Regions from separate parts of the Homo sapiens genome. Here region 2 is linked to region 1. The links are contacts of gene promoters, found by promoter capture Hi-C in human tissues and cell types (Jung and others, 2019). All regions are on one chromosome and are shown on one strand. The core of a region is centred on a gene start or on the middle of the fragment in contact, and the rest is flanking DNA. Distances in the headings are between cores, read along the strand shown.

Region 1 (2,662 bases), core at 76-2,575:
ATCACATGAAAGATAGCAGGCCCTAAATCAAAGCATTTTACCCTAAAATAAATTTCTTTGACACTTTTTGAAATGGCCCTACACAGCCATCTCTTGTGGGGAAAATCTACATTCTATAGAGACTCCCTTTCCCTTTCCAGGTCTTTTCCTGATCCAAGAGATATTTAACTAAGAGTCTGGCATCTTTTTACACATGATAAGAGACATTTGCCAATTATTCTCTCTGAAGCCTGTTACGTATGAGACTTCGTCTACATAATAAGAACCTTGGTCTCCACCTTATCTTAACCCAGACACATTCCTTTCTATTGATTCCAGGTCTTTAGGTCACAACTTAACTCTTTCAACCAACTGCCAATCAGAAAATCTTTGAATCCACCTGTAACCTGGAATCCTTCCCCTTTTTGAGTTGTCCCATCTTTATGGACCAAACTAAGTACACCTTCCATATACCAGTTAATGTCCTTATGTCTCCCTAAAACCATATAATCCCAAGCTGTAGCCCAACCACCTTGGGTACATGTTGTCAGGACCCTGTGGGGTTGTGTCATGGGTCACGGTCCTCACCTTGTGCTCAGAATAAACCTCTTCAAACATTTTACGGAGTTTGGCTTTTTTCGTCAACATGAGCCTCTAACAGTTGGTTACTGGATCATCCTGAGGAATCAAGGCCATAGCACTTAAAGACCCATAAATAATCCTACATGATATTCACTGTGTATTCTATGTAGGTGTAATTTCCAAGCTAAAACATAATTAACCCCACTAATAGACACAACAAACATCCTCTGTATTATCAGCACGCACACAGGGCTTTCTCTGCTGCGAGTGGACTTGTGTCCTTACTTATAATTCTGGAATCTTCTCTAGGGGAGAGGCTGGTCTAATTTCTCTCTATTGACCCAGGGCAGGCAGGAAACAAGGCACACTGTGGAAAGAATGTTTGAATGTTCAGGCTTCTAAGTGACAGAAAAGCAGCTTGTCTGAAAAATGATTTTTTTCTGGCTTCTAACCAGTGTTAATTCACTTGGAAACCAAGGCAGTTTTCTCCCCTTTACTGAACTCTGGATTTCTTTTCCAATCAAGGCCCCTGACACCAAAGAAGGAAATGGAGCGTAAATCAGGCTACAGAGTGGCTGCCATTCATTCGGGAAGCCTTATTGTTTTCCGTCCTTTGTTCCCCTCTAGACCCTTGCCAATCCCCAGGCCGCGAGGCCCTCTGAAGCCCTGAGCCTGGAGCGGTAGGAGACGGGGGAACTGAAACGCCGCGGAACCAGAGGCTGAGGGAGCGGCGCGATGGAGGGAGGAGGAGCGACGGACCGGCAGGCCTAGCTCCGGGGCTGCGGCGGCTGAGGCGCGGGGATGGAGCCCCTGCGGGTGCTGGAGCTATACAGCGGCGTGGGCGGCATGCACCACGCGCTGAGAGGTGAGAGTCCATCTAGCACCCCTCTCTCTATTCGCTCACGGGGGCTGGTTGGAGCACCCGCGCCGGGAAGGGGCGGAGCGGCGAGACGCAAGGGGCGGACACTGTGGGGCGGACACTGTGGGGCGGCCCTCGGTTGTCCTGGAAACAGCTCCTGCGCGCCGCCGTGTCCACCCCTCCAGACGCTGACTCCCTTCTCCTGGCGCCGAGTCTGGCTCGAGGGGCCGCACATGGCGCCTCAAAGGGCCCAGTTGGGAGTCGGGATTCGCAAGGCAGTAAATCAACCTCAAAGGGTATCAAAGGGGCGAGACCCTCGCCTGGTGCCAAGCCCCCATTCTAAGTGTGCAGCCACCGAGAAGCATGGAGACTCGGTCCTTCATCCTGGGGGGCTTCCCAGCTGGGGAGGGAGGGAGTGTCAGGGGCTCCCCTGGTGAGAGATGGATCTTGGAAGGGATAATAGCTACAATTCAAGGTAGAAGTTTGCGAATGCTAAATAGGATGGTAGAGGAAGCTTGAAGAACTTGGACGTCTGATCGTTGGAAAGAAACGTGTCTTCTGTAGTTCTGCGTTTAGATGCCAGAGAACTGAGTTCCAGCTTGGTGGCAGTGTGACGTTGGGCTACTTCGTGAACAGTGATGAACCTGTTTCCTGGTTTTAAAAGAGAATGATTATTATAAGGATTAAAGTCTGTCAAGTGCTTGTTAGTGCCTGATACATTGTAACCACTCCAAATATTATACATTATTATCACTATTACTTTAAAACGACATCACGAGATATTATCAAGCAAACTATTACTTTTATGCACGTCTTTGATTTTGAGGTTTTTGATTTCTTTCATGCTGAGTTGGAACTGAAAGTTTTACTTTTGGTGATATTCACTCAAAATTATTTATTGAGCTCCTATTCTGTGCCAGATTTTGTGCTAGGAGCTGGGGATACAGAATGACAAACAGGCTTTGAAGGTGCATGTTTATTCTTAAATTACTAAGACAACCACCGAACTGAAACTTCCCTGCTTCCTTATTTAGGACCAAGAGTAACAAGAGTAACTGTAAGATACAGACAATATTTAATGGGTTTAGCGTATAAGTTTTTTGAGCAGATTTATTGAGTTTCAATTCTAGACTAGGTTAATGATCATTAAGTTTTTAGTACTTGTTTGCCGGCTATCTTTATTTCTCATTTTAAAACTTAGCAGCATCAAAGCAAAACTCTAGTACTATTTACTCTTTGTTA
Region 2 (2,662 bases), core at 60-2,559, 1.4 Mb after region 1:
TCAGAAAGGGGAGACTAGCACACTTACTCAGCTTAAAGAGAAGCAGTTATCAGGTCTATTCAAAGTGTTCCACATGAGCTTTGGAGAAAGTCCACAGTGTTTATTTTTGTGTGTCTTTTTTGTGGAAGAAAATGTTTGGATATGTGCTTCGTATTCAGGTACATGTTTTATAGGAATTATTGTAAAATGATTGATAAAGATATATTAATATGATCAAAGATACTGGACAACAACAATTCTCTAGTGCCTCTGGATACCAGGAAAATGGCTCCATCCGTTACGCCTCACTAGCTGTGTGATGTTGGACGAGTTCCTACCTCAGTTTTTCATCTGTAAAATGGACTTAAGAGTAACTTTATATGATTAGTCAGCACTCAATACATTAACCATGGTGTTGTTTTTTTAAAAAATGTGTGGCACAGAGCTTATTCCATAACCTCCAAAGACATCAAGGTCTACATAGGTAGTGTCTGAACTGCTAATCACAGGTTTTCACATTATACATAATGAATTTTGTTTTCTTCTTTCTCCTTTATCCCCTCCCCCTTGTACAATTATATGTCAGGAAGCAACACCATTTCTTTTAAATCTGAAGCTGTTTGTTTTGTTAAGTTGCTAAAATATGTTGACAGCCATATTTTGTCTGATTTCAGTGTACTGCATTTTTTTAATCTTTAAGAATAATTGGACTATTGTAGGTAGAGCTTAATATACACCACTCCCTAGGCATTCTCTAGAATTGCCTTGTCTTTTCTGTTCCTTTTAAATAAATGCTCCTCCCTGTGCCCTTGCTGTGGCCTCCCGTCACTGTTAGCACTGTTTCTGTCAGGCATCCCCAGCTAACAGTTTTCTGTATAGTGCCACCATATTTTGTACCTTTTCCATCCCATAATAAAAGTGAATTTGCAGTACAAGCTATAAATGAGCTACTTATTTATGAGCTTGTATCATTAAAAGTAACAAATGTTAACGAGCAGCTATGAGTCAACCACTGTGCTAGGCCCTGGGGATCTGGACTCCCTGCCCTCCAGAACTCATTGCCCACTGGGGAGCCAGAAGTAATGCCAAAGAGGTCTGGAAAAGCTCAGCTCTGGTGTGTGACTTGGCCTTGGGGAAAAGGTCACTTGCTTTTTCAATAGGAATATAGACCTACAATTTAATAAATACTAAGGCTTTATTAAATTCTATTTTTTTTTTAATTCCCAAGAAACTGTAGTCTCCCTCTCCCACAGTGTATGGAAAATGTTAGTCTCAAGTACAGTGGGCTTCACAGTTTCCTTATAAGCTGTTTGTTGCACAACTCTGAGAAACCTTTTTCCAGCTTCTCTGTTAGTTTTGAGTATCCAACATTTGGCTTCTCTTCCTGCAGTGTCCAGTTTAGCTAGTATCTCTGTTAAAATTGAGACCTGCTAGGCTCTCCTGTTTATTTCTTAATCTTTCAGGACAGAAATCCTGATTGTTTTATATTTCCTTTGAAAGCCCAACTCAGGTTTCCTCCCAGTTATGAAATAGTTATCTTATCCAGGAAATTACATGCCTCACTTTCACTGTCCTTCATCAGCGCTCCTTTGCATTGAGTTATTCCTCCCCACAATCTCTAAGGACTTGACACTTTTAGCAATCTGGATATTCAACTGGTAAAAATCTTTTAAAATTTTAAACCAACAGCTTTTTTCCTCCTTTCAGCCACAATCCAACAGCATTACAGTATGTACATGCTAGCCGTTTCCCATCCTGGCTGCTCTGCCCTCTTTTGCTTGCCCTGCCTCATAGTCCCCATTCTTTTGTGTTGATATCTATGTAGTTAATTTACCAGTGTATGCAAGTTCTATTTTTTTCTTTTAGTTCTTCATAGATCTGCTTGACTAATCAAATGGTATTCTCTGAGATTTCCTTTGCTGTTGACTTTGAGGTTGTCTTTTCATCTTTGTGCCTCTGTTTCCTTATTCTCTAGGGAGTCAGTTGGTGAAATGTCAGATGACCTAGGTTTCATCTGTTTTTACACTTAATGATTCTGGCCTTTTTCTAAGGAATTTTTTGTAGGTATGGTTAACATGTCAAAGTAAGTCTTCTACAAAGGAAAATAATTTTGAAATCTCTTCTAATCTTGAGTATATTAAAAGTTTTGAATTATTGAGAAAATTCTATTACATCTTTAGTTTTAAAATACTAAATGTACAAAATGTAGAGTTACTGACCGGGTACAGTTATGGTTACACTTCAGAATATCTGTGCTTATGAGTTGTAAATCTCATAGCTACCTTAAAAATGTTTAAGCTTGAGGTTAATCATATATAAGCATGTTGTTAAGAAGGTCACATTGTTGTTTTTGTTGTCATTTGCCAATTAGCTCTTGGTTGGGGTGGGAACTGAGTTGCAGGTTATGGTTTCTGCGGAAAGGCTGCCAGCCATGACAAAGTACATGCTGTCAGTGCTCCTGAAAAACGGTGTACAGACTGAGCATCCCTCACCCGAAAGGTTGATCCTCCAAAATTTTGAGTGCCAATATGACACCGTGGAGCATTTCAGATTTTGGACCAGATCAGGGATGTTCAGCCATTATATATTTGCAAATATTCATAAACCAGAAAAAATTTGAAATCTAAAACATTTCTAGACCCAGGCATTTTGGATGAGGGAGACTCCACCTGTAATATCAAAT

The links. Contacts are between HindIII fragments. The study calls those that stand out against the background at their distance.
Region 2: a fragment that was not itself captured here is called in contact with the fragment with the promoter of TRDMT1 in region 1 in 1 of the 25 tissues and cell types used here (lymphoblastoid cells).

What each region holds. Positions count from the first base shown.
Region 1 is chr10:17,200,335-17,202,996 of GRCh38, reverse strand. It overlaps TRDMT1 (tRNA aspartic acid methyltransferase 1), which reads left to right and starts at 1,325. Exons shown (of 11, transcript NM_004412.7): 1 at 1,325-1,426. The coding sequence starts at 1,363. RefSeq lists a silencer at 1,628-1,687. The HindIII fragment of the contact is 10,509 bases long and covers 1-2,662 here.
Region 2 is chr10:15,790,643-15,793,304 of GRCh38, reverse strand. The region is part of intron 11 of MINDY3 (MINDY lysine 48 deubiquitinase 3); the gene reads left to right. All of the region lies in intron 1 of LOC124902383 (a long non-coding RNA gene), which reads right to left. Among named protein-coding and RNA genes, the nearest start is that of MINDY3, 69 kb to the left of the region's middle. The HindIII fragment of the contact is 3,404 bases long and covers 1-2,662 here.